Linked DNA regions of Homo sapiens: all the other regions are linked to region 2. The links are contacts of gene promoters, found by promoter capture Hi-C in blood cells and fetal thymus (Javierre and others, 2016). All regions are on one chromosome and are shown on one strand. Each heading gives the region's core, a stretch centred on a gene start or on the middle of the fragment in contact. The rest is flanking DNA. Distances are from core to core; before and after follow the strand shown. Region 1 has its middle 73 kb from the start of KIF14. Region 2 holds the start of CACNA1S (calcium voltage-gated channel subunit alpha1 S). Region 3 overlaps KIF14 (kinesin family member 14).

The links. Contacts are between HindIII fragments. The CHiCAGO score rates a contact against its expected background, and 5 or more counts as called.
Region 1: a fragment that was not itself captured here is called in contact with the fragment with the promoter of CACNA1S in region 2 in 1 of 17 cell types (endothelial precursors); the score reaches 5.4 in endothelial precursors.
Region 3: a fragment that was not itself captured here is called in contact with the fragment with the promoter of CACNA1S in region 2 in 1 of 17 cell types (endothelial precursors); the score reaches 5.2 in endothelial precursors.

The regions. Positions count from the first base shown.
Region 1 is chr1:200,545,278-200,549,903 of GRCh38, reverse strand. No RefSeq gene overlaps it. Among named protein-coding and RNA genes, the nearest start is that of KIF14, 73 kb to the left of the region's middle. The HindIII fragment of the contact is 775 bases long and covers 1,595-2,369 here.
Region 2 is chr1:201,110,853-201,115,300 of GRCh38, reverse strand. It overlaps CACNA1S (calcium voltage-gated channel subunit alpha1 S), which reads left to right and starts at 2,875. Exons shown (of 44, transcript NM_000069.3): 1 at 2,875-3,113. The coding sequence starts at 2,962. It overlaps ASCL5 (achaete-scute family bHLH transcription factor 5), which reads left to right. Exons shown (of 2, transcript NM_001270601.2): 2 at 1-1,358. The coding sequence ends at 549. RefSeq lists an enhancer at 1-48 and a silencer at 699-748. The HindIII fragment of the contact is 9,593 bases long and covers 1-4,448 here.
Region 3 is chr1:200,561,780-200,566,455 of GRCh38, reverse strand. It overlaps KIF14 (kinesin family member 14), which reads left to right. Exons shown (of 30, transcript NM_014875.3): 24 at 787-1,011; 25 at 1,203-1,387. Among named protein-coding and RNA genes, the nearest start is that of KIF14, 57 kb to the left of the region's middle. The HindIII fragment of the contact is 1,216 bases long and covers 760-1,975 here.

The DNA.
Region 1 (4,626 bases), core at 733-3,232, 560 kb after region 2:
CGGGAGGCTGAGGCATGAGAATTGCTTGAACCTGGGAGGCAGAGGTTGCAGTGAGCCAAGATTGCGCCACTGCACTCCAGCCTGGGAGACCAAGGGAGACTGTCAAACAAACAAAAAACCAAACAAAAAACACACACTACACTCGAACATACAGGAGAACCACCAGAGAATCGCTGACTTATTCAAGACAGAATTCAGGGGTAAACTTTTGATTAAGCAAATGGCAACTGGAAACTGCATATTTCCTGTTGCTGAATGGTCCTAAACTCAGAGAATCATAGGTTTTTTAAAGAATTTAGCCGAGCACGGTGGCTCACGCCTGTAATCCCAGCGCTTTAGGAGGCCGGGGGTGGGTGGATCACCTGAGGTCAGAAATTCGAGACAAGCCTGACCAACAAGGTGAAACCCCGTCTCTACTAAAAATACAAAAATTAACCAAGCGTGGTGGCACGCGCCTGTAATCCCAGCTACTCAGGAGGCGTAGGCAAGAGAATCGCTTGAACCCGGGAGGCGGAGGTTGCAGTGAGCTGAGATGGCCACATTGCACTCCAGCCTGGGCGACAAGAGTGAAACTCCATCTCAAAAAAAAAAAAAAAAAAAGAATTTAAGAGCGATTTTGTGGTAAGTCACAGGCTTTCGTTTCTCTGGCTAATATTCAGTGAAAACCTCTGAATTTGTCTAAAGAGCGAGCATCTGCCCATTAGGGGGCCTCATTTTCACGAAGAGCAGATTGTGCTGTCCACTAAGAAGATGGAGAATCTCTGAAATTTGGAAAATGGATATCGCTTTCTATGGCCCTACATCCCCCTCTTTTTAAAATGGTGGCTCACGTCTATAACCCCAGCACTTTGGGAGGCTGAGATGGATGGATCACGAGGCTAAGAGATCTAGACCATCCTGGCCAACATGGTGAAACCCTGACTCTACCAAAAAACACAAAAATTAGCTTCGCCTGTAGTCACAGCTACTCGGGAGGCTGAGGCAGGAGAATCACTTGAACCCGGTAGGCAGAGGTTGCAGTGAGCCGAGATTGCACCATGGCACTCCAGCCTGGCGACAGAGCAAGACTCTGTCTCAAAAAAAAAAAAAAATATATATATATATATATATGTGTGTGTGTGTGTGTGTGTGTGTGTGTGTGTGTGTGTTTACGGGCCAAGCACGGTGGCTCACACCTATAATCCCAGCACTTCTGGAGGCCAAGATGGGAGGATCACTTGAGCCCAGGCATTCGAGACCAGCCTGGCCCACATAATGAGACCTGGTCTTTATTTAAAAAACAAACAAAAAAAGAGCAGGCATGATGGCTCATGCCTGTAATCCCAGCACTTTGGGAGGCCGAGGTAGGCAGATCAACTGAGGTCGGGAGTTCAAGACCAGCCTGATCAATATGGTGAAACCCCATCTCTACTAAAAATACAAAATTAGCCGGGCGTGGTGGCACATGCCTGTAATCTCAGCTACTCGGAAGGCTGAGGCAGGAGAATCACTTGAACTTGGGAGGTAGAGGTTGTGGTGAGCCGAGATGGCACCATTGCACTACAGCCTGGGTGACAAGAGCAAAACTCCGTCTCAAAAAAAAAAAAATAAAGCTTTTTCCCCAGTTTTATTGAGGTGTAATTAACAAATAAATTGTGTATATTCAAGGTGTGCAATGTGATGGTTTGATATACAAACACATTGTGAAATCATTACTACAATCAACACATTCATCACCATATCACCATATGTAGTTACTATTTGTGAATGTGCGTGTAGGGGGTAAGGACACCTAAAATTTACTCTTAGCAAATTTCAAGTATACTATACAGCATTATTTTTTTTTTAATTTATTTTTTAGATGGAGCCTCACTCTGTCACCCAGGCTGGAGTGGAGGGGCAGGACCTCGGCTCACTGCAATCTCCACTTCCTGGGTTCAAGTGATTCTCCTGCCTCAGCCTCCTGAGTAGCTGAGATTACAGGTGCCCACCACAATTCCCGGATAATTTTTGTATTTTTTAGTAGAGACAGGGTTTTACCATGTTGATCAGGCTGGTCTCGAACTCCTGACCTCGTGATCCGCCTTCCTCGGCCTCCCAAAGTGCTGGGATTACAGGCATGAGCCACCGCGCCTGGCCTACTATATACAGTATTATTATACACCTTGCTATACATTAGACTCCCAGAATTCATTCTTCTGATAAATGAAAGTTTGTATAATTTGATCAGCATCTCTCCATTCTCCTCACCCTACCCCCAACCCCTGGCAAACAGCCTTCACCTCTCTGCTTCTATGAATTTGACTTTTTAAGAATCCTCACACAAGTGAGATCATACAGTATTTGTCTTCCTGTGTCTGCTATTTCACTTAGCACAACTTCCTCAAGCTTCCTCCACGTTGTGACAAGTGGCAAAATTTCCTTTTTTAAGGCAGAATATTCCTGTTTGTGTGTGTGTGTGTACGTGTGTGTGTGTGCGTACGTGTGTGTGTGTGTGTAACATTTTCTTTATCCATTCATCCATCAATGGACAGATGGACAGTTAGGTCGTTTCCAGATCTTAGCTATTGTGAATATTGCTGCAATGAACATGGGAATGCAGCTATCTCTACAGGGTGCTAATTTCATTTTCTCTGGGTATATACCCAGAAGAGGGATGGCTCAGTCATATGGTAGTTCTATTTTTAGTTTTTGAGGAATCTCCATACCTTTTTCTATAATGGCTATACCAGTTTACATTCCCACCAACAGTGTACAAGGGCCCCCTAATTTCTTTTTTTCTTTCTTTTTTTTTTTTTTGAGACAGAGTCTCACTCTGTCACCCAGGGTGGAGTGCAGTGGCATGATCTCAGCTCACTGCAACTTCTGTCTCCCGGGTTCAAGCGATTCTCCTGCCTCAGCCTCTTGAGTATCTGGGGTTACAGGTGCGTGCCACCACGCCTGGCTAATTTTTGTATTTTTAGTAGAGACGGAGTTTCACCATATTGGCCAGGCTGGTCTCAATCTCCTGACCTTGTGATCCGCCCTTCTCAGCCCCCCAAAGTGCTGGGATTACAGGCGTGAGCCACCTTGCCCGGCCGGGTCCCCTATTTTCTACATCCTTGCCAACATTTACCTCTTGTCTTTTTGATCACAGCCATCTTAACAGGTGTGAGATGAAATCTCATTGTGGTTTTGGTTTGCACTTCCCTGATGATTAGTGATGATGAGCACAAATTGCGATGCCAGATATTTGCCCATTTTCTTCTCCCTTTTTGTCTCTCCAGCCTCCTGTTTTGGGTGCTGTGATGGGTGATCACCATTTTCCCCTCCTTCTCTCCCCAGTCACCCCACTGCCCTCTGCCTCAACTCCCCCAGCTGAAACTGCTCTCACCTAGGTCATCAGTTAACTTTTAATTACAAAAGCCAAAGGGATTTTTCAGTCTTAATCTCACTTAATTGCTCCCTTTCTTTGGAAATTCTTTCCTCTCATGTCTCCACAGTAGAATATGCCTGAGTTTTCTGATTGTTCTTTTTTCATCTCTTTCATGAGCTTCTTATTCTCCACCAGGTCTTTTAAATATTAGAATTCTGTGTGTTGGTTGAACAAAAATGTATTGTACTTGAGAGATGGATACCCTGAGTACCCTAAGTTACTTGTCACTACGCATTATATACATGTAACAAAATGTCATCTGTACTCCATAAATTCGTACAGAAAAATTCGGTGCCCAGGCCGGGAGTGGTGGCTCACGTCTGTAATCCCAGCACTTTGGGAGGCCGAGGCGGGTGGATCACTTGAGGTCAACAGATTGAGACCATCCTGGCAAACATGGTGAAACCCTGTCTCTATTAAAAATACAAAAATTAGCTGGGCGTGGTGGTGTGCACCTGTAATCCCAGCTACTTGGGAGGCTGAGGCAGGAGAATCACTTGAACCCGGGAGGCAGAGGTTGCAGTGAGCTGAGATTGTGCCACTGCACACTGCACTCCAGCCTGGGCAACAGAGCGAGACTCCATCTCAAAAAGAAAGAAAGAAAGAACGAAAGAACGACAGAACGAAAGAAAGAAAGAAAGAAAGAAAGAAAGAAAGAAAGAAAAAGAAAGAAAAGAAAGGAAGGAAGGAAGGAAGGGAGAAAGAAAGAAAAGAAAGAAAGAAAGAAAGAAAAGAAATAAATAAATAAAGAAAGAAAGAAAGAAAGAAGAGATAAGAAAGAAAGAAAATTTGGTGCCCAGTGTGACCTTTTCCTTGCAGTCTCCTTACTTTCCCTAGAGATCAATGCATAGTGAAGCTGTTGAGGGCGTGGATTCTAGAGGTTCTGCTTCTTACTCCCTACCTCTCTGCTCACTTCCTTAACTCTTAGAACTTCTGTTTTCTTATTTCTAAACTGGTACCTTGAGGGTCATGGCTTTGAGGGCTAAGTGACACGACACCTCACAGACACAAGCACTTAGCACAGAAAACCCGATGCATGATAACTCAAGAAATGGTGGCCATGATTATTAATTTTATCTCCTTGAGTGATGTAACCACTGTTTATAAGCTGATACTCCCAAATGCACATTTCTTTCTTTTGAGCTCTCTTATTCAATTGTCTACTTGGCCATAATACAAGCACCTTAAATCTAAAGGTATCTAAAGAGTTAACTCATACTCTATATCTTTTC
Region 2 (4,448 bases), core at 1,626-4,125:
GTCATGCCCCCTCCCCGGCAGGCGCCCCTGCCCCCCGCCGAGCCCCTGGGCAACGTGCCCTTCCTGCTGTACCCGGGCCCAGCAGAGCCGCCCTACTACGACGCCTATGCGGGGGTGTTCCCCTACGTGCCCTTCCCCGGCGCCTTCGGGGTCTACGAATACCCCTTCGAGCCAGCCTTCATCCAGAAGCGCAACGAGCGCGAGAGGCAGCGAGTCAAGTGCGTCAACGAGGGCTACGCTCGCCTCCGCGGCCACCTCCCCGGCGCCCTGGCTGAGAAGCGACTCAGCAAGGTGGAGACGCTGCGCGCCGCCATCCGCTACATAAAGTACCTGCAAGAGCTGCTGAGCTCGGCCCCCGACGGCTCGACGCCCCCCGCTTCCCGCGGCCTCCCGGGCACCGGGCCCTGCCCCGCGCCGCCCGCCACCCCCCGTCCCGACCGCCCTGGCGACGGCGAGGCCCGGGCGCCCTCCTCCCTGGTGCCGGAGTCATCCGAGTCCTCCTGCTTCTCCCCGTCGCCTTTCTTGGAGTCGGAGGAATCCTGGCATTGATCGGGCCTGTGGCCGCCCCCGGCTTGGAGGATGATCCGCCGGCCCCGTCCCACTTTCGGGAGCAGCGGGAGGCTGTTGGGTCACCCGCGATGCGCCGCAGGACGGTGACTGTAGGAGGTCCGCGGCGCTCCCGTGTCTGCGACACCCTCCCTCCTCCACCAGCTTGGGGCGGAAGTGCAGGGCAGCGGGTACGATGGGCACGATAGAGACCTAGGAGCTCCGTGGGTGAAGCGAGGGGCAGGGCCTGGGACTGCTCCGGGCGTCCTGCGTCCCCTCCGGGGTGCAGAGGGGCTCCCCAGGACGGTCATCCCTGGGTCTGGCTCCCGCTCGGCCTCAGGTGGCTCTGCTCCGTCCTTCCTTGCCGCAGGCGCAGTCCAGTCTCTGCGAGTCCCCGGGATGCGAGCCCGACTTTGAGCCCTCGGTTACCATGCCACTGCTCTCCACCAGATGGCCTCAGATACTAGCGACTTCTTTGGGAGCACGCTTACTCCTCGAGAAAGGAACCCAGAGGAAGGGATGGGAGGCCAGATTGCTGCTGGCGCTCAGCCCAGACCGAACCTACAGACTCAGCAGAGGCGACCTGTGTGCCCCGGTGGCGTTCTCTGGCTTCCTGGGTTGGGAGGGGGGGTTACTCCCTCCCCGCATCCCCCCCATGAGGTCGTCTAGTTTTGTCCCAGGTTGGGTGGGGACTGTGGTTTTTTTCCCTCAGACTGTAAGCCTTGGGGGAGGGGGGCGTGCATATAGGTACATAGGCACTGCGTCGGCACCAAAGAGCTAAATAAAAGGATTGTTGAATTTTCTCATTCCTAGATCATTGTCTACCCTCACCCTTCCTGGTGCCCCTTTCTTATTCTCACTCCCAGCCCAGAGTACTTGCTGGGAGGATATGTGGGGTTCGCTGTTAGCTCAGCACATTTAAGATTCAGTGTTGTTAGCTCAGGCGTTCAATGAATTTTTTTTTTTTTTTTTTTTTTTTTGAGACAGGTTTTGCTCTGTTGCCCAGACTGGAGTGCAGTGATTCAATCCCTGCTCACTGCAACCTCCTTCTCCTGGGTTTGAGCAATTCTCCTGCCTCAGCCTCCAGAGTAGCTGGGATTATAGGTGCACACCACCACGCCCGCTAATCTTTGGTATTTTTAGTAGAATGCGGGTTTCACCATGTTGGCCATGCTGGTCTCGAATTCCTCACCTCAAGTTATCTACCTACCTTGGTTTCCCAAAGTGCTGGGATTACCGTGGCTATCCTCAATGAACTTTTCTTTTTGAGACAAGGTCTCACTCTGTCTCACTCTGTCATCCAGGCTGGAGTGCAGTGGCCAGATCTTGGCTCATTGCAGCCTCAACCTCCCAGGCTCAACTGATCCTCCCACCTTGGCCCCCCTAGTAGCTGGGACTACAAACACACACCACCATACCCTGCTAATTTTTGTATTTTTTGTAGAGACAGAGTTTCACTACGTTGCCCCGACTGGTCTTGAAGTCCTGAGCTCAAGCCATTCTCCCACCTCAGCCTCCCAAAGTGTTGGGATTACAGGCGTGAGCCACCATGCCTGGCCTCAGTGAACATTTACAGGGAGCATAGTACATAGGGGGACTGTGCAGAGAAGGGGCCAGAGTCCCAGAGATAATGCACACAACCTTTACACCTGTAGGGATGGGAGGAGATGGGGAAGAAAGATACACAGCAGATGCTCCACAGTGAGGCAGGTGCTATGCCAGAGGTGTGCACACTCAGGGTTGTTCTGGGAGCCTTCTAGCCCACTGGAGAGGGGTTTACTGTTTCTCTGACATGGGATTGCTTGTGGGGGTGGGTTGAGGGTATGCTTGGGGAGTTTTGGCTGATGGTGCAGATACTGAGATGGGTAGGGGCTGCTGTGGAGCTGTCCTGACTTAGGCTGCCCAGTGCCTTCTCCAGACAATGTCATGGGGCTGAGGAGGGGTAAGCCTAATTTTGGCATGAGGGGGCCACTCTGCAGTTTGAGGTTCCATATCCAAGGCTACCTATTCCTGACCTCTGTTGCCCCAGGCTTGAAACCTTCCATCCTGTCTCCCTCTCCCACTGCCCCTGCCCCATCCCAGGCCTGTGTGTAAGTTCTTCCCCCGACCCACCCCACCCTCCTCAGGGGACAGATTGGGAAGTCACTGGCTGGGCTGGGTGGAATGACAGCTGCCTGGCCTCAGAAGCTCAGGCCCGGCAGCGGGGAGCCGAGTGGAGGCTAATTTTACTTGCTGGGAGCGAGGAGAGTAATCCTCCTGCCCCCACTCCTGCCCCCGCCCCCTGGCTGGCTCAGCAGGGCAGGCTCAGCCGACAGCCTCAGCCAGCCTAGTCCCCAAGGCGGGGGCATTGGGGACACAGGGAAGGGAAAGCACTGGGGTGGGGGAGCAGGAGAAAGCCAGATTCCCAGGGAAGCCATGGAGCCATCCTCACCCCAGGATGAAGGCCTGAGGAAGAAACAGCCCAAGAAGCCAGTTCCTGAGATTCTGCCAAGGCCACCCCGGGCCTTGTTCTGCCTGACCCTGGAGAACCCCCTGAGGAAGGCCTGCATCAGCATTGTAGAATGGAAGTATCCTTCAGGGCCCGGGCCGTGGGGGGGGGTGTGCGTCATGAGGGAGGGATTCGGGGTGATCACAGAGCACAAACTTCCTACAGGAGGGCCAGGGAGGCCTGGCACTTAGACATGGGGTGAACTCACAGAATTGAGTGAGGAGCTGGGGGAAGGAGCCCTCGGCTAAGCAGGAGAGGAGGAGGAGGAAGAGGAGGAAGACGAGGAGGGTGGGGGAGGAGGAGGAAGAGGAGGAGGGTGGGGGAGGAGGAGGAAGAGGAGGAGGAGGAAGAGGAAGAGAAGGAGGACTTGGTGGGGCTTCCTGGGCCTGAGTGGGCCACCCAAGTCCTGGATGACAACCAGAGATGCCTACTGACCACCTATGGGTGGGGCCTGTTTCATGGGGACTGTTCCCATGTGTGCCCAAATCCACATTATCATGGGGTGCCACTAGGTTTTTGAAGCACCAGCCTCATTTTAGAATAGGATAGGGACCAAAAAAAGATGCGATGGCCTCTTTGAGAAAACTCTCCCTTGTTTGGGTTGGGTGGGGGGTGACAGTGGACAGAGGTGAGCTGAAGGAAGGCTTCCTCTGGGGGCAGGTCCCAGCTGAGGACAGAGCCAAGGGGAGAAATGGATCTGAAAGACACCTGGTCTCAGTGGCTCCAAGACACAGGCCAAACAAGCCTGGTTGTTCTAGCTCAGACGTGCCACCCTGGGGACAGGGACTTTGAAACTCATGCTATGTTTGCATTTGCTCTGGTGGGGAGAATGATGAAAATATCTGGGTTATTTGGGGAAGGGAGGAAGGAGTGACAGAGAGAAGGGGAGGGCTGTGTCAAGTGGGTTCTGAGAGCGAGGGTGGGGCATATTTGAAATATTTCTGAAGAGTTCTGGAAGGCTGGGCTCCTACCAGCTGTTCCCTAGAAGGAAGGAGAATGAGGGATAACTGGAAGGACAAGAGAAACGTGGGGCAAGTAGAGATAGTTTGGGGTCAGGGTCAGCCCTGTTCCCCTGACCCGCTCTCGGCCAGGCGGTATATCGCCCACATCAAACCCTCCTAGGCCCTCCCTCCTTGCCTCTCTTCTGCAATCAGGTTTACTCTGTGGGTTCTCCCTCTCCTCCATCCTCTGCTCCTCTGCGCCCTGCCCCTGTGGCCCTCCTCTTTTCTCAAACACTGGAGGTTACTGGGAAGAGAATGGGATTTTTCTGTCAAGCCCAACTACGTAATATGCCTCCCCATCCACCCCCAAACAACTCCCTCGCTTCCTCCCTTGCTTTCTCTAGCTCTTTCCAGACTTGCTGCCTAATGGGCCAGAAAGTCGAGAAAGCCATGGGCCTGGGGTACCCTCTGGA
Region 3 (4,676 bases), core at 118-2,617, 550 kb after region 2:
ACGCCCAGCTAATTTTTTTGTATTTTTAATAGAGATGGGGTTTCACCACGTTAGCCAGGATGGTCCCGATCTCCTGACCTCGTGATCTGCCTGCCTCGGCCTCCCAAAGTGCTGGGATTACAGGCATGAGCCACCGTGCCTGGCCCAACCCTGTCTCTTAAAAAAAAAAAAAGAAAGAAAGAAAAGAAAATTAATTCCTACCATAGAGTAAAGAAAGAGATTAACCCAGTGGTTACGTGGGATATTTGGATTCTCTATTGTCTCATAGTATAGTCAGGGAGCTACTAAATCTATGGATTGATGCGGTTGAGAGGTTAATTGATCCGTGAATGGAATTGTGTTTTCACTTTAGCATATAGAAATGAGGCTGAATTGAAATAAGTATAGCCTACTTTGAATTTATTGATCAGTGATCCTATAATATGCTTGCAATAAAACATTTGTTTGAAAGTATTATGCCTGAACATTTTTGGAAGAGCAATAGTATACGAGTAATATTTGCAAGCAGCAGAGGGGTAGTTTCTGCAGAATTAGCATTATGGAGCACCCTGGAAATCAACATACACAAGTATAGCATGGAAGATATACTTACAAGTACAACATAGCATACGATGTTATATATACTAATAGTTTTGTTTTTCTAATTCCACAGTGAACACAAAAATGCTTTGTTGTTGTAATACATTTCAGTAATGCAGAAGTACATAAAGTAAGGATCCCTTTTTTTAAAAAAGAAAGTATTATTCCTGAAAACAAGCTTAAAATGGCTATTTTCTGTTGATGTAGGTTTAATGGACAAATCAAGCACTATTTACTCAAATTCAGCAGAGTCCTTTCTTCCTGGAATTTGCAAAGAATTGATTGGTTCTTCGTTAGATTTTTTTGGACAGAGTTATGATGAAGAAAGAACTATAGCAGACAGCCTAATTAATAGTTTTCTTAAAATTTATAATGGGCTATTTGCCATTTCCAAGGCTCATGAAGAACAAGATGAAGAAAGTCAAGATAACTGTAAGCAATCTCACTGCTTTTGTTAACTCACATAAATGATTATTTTCTGCACATTGCACTTTGTTTTGAGTGATTATTTGGCACATCTGGCATGCATCTTTTAACTGTGTTAAATGTTTTAATGATGATCATATATGAGTTCTTTTATTTGGATAATATTTCATTCAGTAATTTTTCTTCTTCTTTCAAAGTGTTTTCTTCTGATCGAGCAATCCAGTCACTTACTATTCAGACTGCATGTGCTTTTGAGCAGCTAGTAGTGCTAATGAAACACTGGCTGAGTGATTTACTGCCTTGTACCAACATAGCAAGACTTGAGGATGAGTTGAGACAAGAAGTTAAAAAACTGGGAGGCTACTTACAGTTATTTTTGCAGGTAAATTGATTTGCTTATTATCATTTGAAGGATTCATTTAATAATTATTTATTGGCTTTCTACTGTCTATATCTTCCCCAAAATTAGCTCTGTATGATTTTCAAAAGTACATTCTGTTTTGAAGTTCTGAGACTGTGGTTGTCTGTAATTGATTTGTTAAACAAAGACTTACATGGCTCTCTATGTATGAGTAGTTCTAAGTGATTTACAAATATTAACTCATTTAATCCTTATAACAACCCCAGCAGTGGGCACTGTTGTTATCACCATCTTGTAGATGAGGAAATGGAGGCACAGGGAAAATAAATATACCATCCAATGTTACCTAACTAGTAAATGACTGAGTTGGATTTGGACCCAGGCAGTCTTGGGCCCAGTTCATGCTCTGCCATTATACCATGCTGGCCCTCAATAAGGGATACTGGGAAGAGAGACAGAGTCTTTCTCTGGGTATGGGATTGGATTTCAACTCAGACTGAATTGGCCACAATTCTGCTGACATAGAGACAAGGAAATAATTTTGTTTTCCTGCTTATCTTGTATCAGATAAGATTAGGTTTGGCTGTAAGAAGAAGTAAGATGAAAGCTTATTCTCTCTCACATAAAATCTAGATGTAGACACAGTGGCTCTGATCCACAGAGTCCTCAGGATCCAGGCTCCTCCCATTGGTCCCATCCGCCATGCCCAAAGTGTAGCCCCTGATTTCATGACCCACTATGGAGGAGCCCCATCTGAGCTCAGCACAGCAGGGTGGAAGGAGTGGTGAGAAGGATAGGGCAAAGTTTGCCTTTTTTTTTTTTTTTTTTTGAGCTGGAGTCTCACTCTTGTCACCCAGGTTGGAGTGCAGTGGCGTGATCTTGGCTCACTGCCCCTCTGCTCCTGGGTTCAAGCGATTCTCCTGCCTCAGCCTCTCGAGTAGCTAGGATTACAGGCACTCACCACCATGCTCGGCTAATTTTTGTATTTTTAGTAGAGATGGGGTTTCACCATGTTGGCCAGGCTAGTCTCGAACTCCTGACCTCAGGTGATCCGCCCCCCTCAGCTTCCCAAAGTGCTGGGATTACAGGCATGAGCCACTGCGCCCGGCTGAAGTTTGCCTTCTTTTAAGGGAGGTTTCTGGAAATCACCATATGCCACATCTATTTATATATCTGGCTAGAATTTTATCATTTGACTACATCTAGCTGCAAGTATCATGAGGAAATGTATTTTTTAAAAAAATTCTGGACACCTATGTGCCAAGCCAGAAATCAAGGGATCTGTGGAAGAAGTGGAAAATTGATATTGGAGAATACTTAGTCATCTACCATATTAACAAATTCCTTCTTAAAAATTCCTTGATATGCAAAAGGAGCAGATAAGAAATTAATGGCCGAGTACAGTGGCTCATGCCTATAATACTAGGACTTTGGGAGGCTGAGGCAGGAGGATCAGTTAAGCCTGGGACTTTGAGACCAGCCTGGGCAACATAGTGAATAATAACAAATATCCAACTTGTTAGATACTTTGTCTCTAAAAACATAAAAAAAATCAGCCAGCTGATTTTTTGGTGGCATGTACCTGTGGTCCCAGCTACTTGGGAGGCTGAGGTGGGAGGATTGCTTGAGCCCAGGAGTTCGAAGCTACAGTGAGCCATGATTGCACCACTGCATTCCAGCCTGGATGACAGAGTGAGACCATGTCTCAATAATAATAACAAAAAGTAAACTATTTAAAAAAAGAAAATACTAAGAGGGTTAGATTTCACTTTTAAAAAAGGATAATTAGACCATGTAATAAAATGTTATAGAACAATTGAACAAATTTTATGTTATAGTGCCCACCGAAAGACTTTCCACATTCTATTATTGCAGTAGAATTTTTGTTGTGTCAAATACTTCCTGAATGGGCTATTTACTAGCTGGGATTTGGAAATCTTTAACTGATCTAACTAGTAAACTTGAAATCAGATGATTGTTTTTAATGTCCGTTGTTCTCCCTCAGGAGGATTTTCTAGGTCTCCCCAAGACTTGGTTAGGCACCTGTCTTATTTGCTTCTCTGATAACCCTAAACTTCACCCGTTATGACTTTTAATATAACATACTATTTATAAGCCTGTACATCTCAATGGACAGTTAGCTCTAAGAAGGTAGAGGACAGTGGGTGTCTTTTTTCACAAGGCACCATTATGTGATAGATGTTTGGTTGGATACTTGTTATTGAATTAATTATAAATTCATATGGGATGAAGGATGACTTTGGATATAGGTAATGAGGAAATAGGATGACTAAAACAAGGGGTGGCGGGGTGGGTGGACTGCAAACAGGTGTGGATGAAATAGTAGATGAAGGAGAATTTCTGACAGCATAGAATCATGAAAATGAAAGGTAGGATTGGCCAGAGAGCAAAGCTAGAGAGCCAGAAGCGAAGGGTCTGACTTAAGTTTGAGCCTAGAAAAGGAAGCTTGTTGAAGGATGGTCAGTGCTTAGTTGGCTCTCAGATTTTAGAGGCAGTACTAGAATAGTGGGAGAACACACACAAAACAAAAACTCACTACTGGCACTTGAAAAACTGATGTTTGAACCCATGCTAAATTAGTTGTGCGTCCTTGGGCAAACTGCTTAAATTTTTGAGTCTCCTGTTTCTCACAGGAAAATAAAGCTGGAAATGCCTACTGGGCAGGATTGCTGTGAGGATCAGATGAATTAATGTTATAAGAATGTCTCTCTTAGAGTAACTGGTGTGTAGTTTCTTTCCTTCTTTTCATTTTCTGAGAAGAACACTTTGAACTGAACTTGTGGGTTTCAACTCATAGCCCTGTGGGAAATCTTATACAAGGAATCAAGGATGGAGAGACCAGGCGACTTGGAGGGGAAGTTAGATTAAGCTCAGGACAGACTTGTGTTAAGCTAGCAAACCTGAATTTAGTGACTACACTTTCTACTAAGTATGGTTTGAGAATCCTTTTCTTGTAGCAATACAATTAGCATATTCCCCAAAGCAGGCCAGGAGAAATATTTTGAAGAGACACTACAGGGGGCAGGTAACAGAAAGAAGAAAAGCTCAAGAGAAGCTTCCTCATTCCTTTTTTATATGTGTACTCTGAGTGCATGTGGGAAGTCTTTTGTTTGAAGGTGTTTGGGGTTTTTTCCATCCCTTTTGCTTCCCCTTCCTCTCCCTCTCGATTTCTTTTTCCTTGAGAAAATCATATCTTTATTAACTGTCAGATGGTTATCAGAACAGGAAAAGTTCAGATGCAAAAGAGCCACCCTTCTTTTTCTTTCTTTTGGCTTTTACTTATTAATTC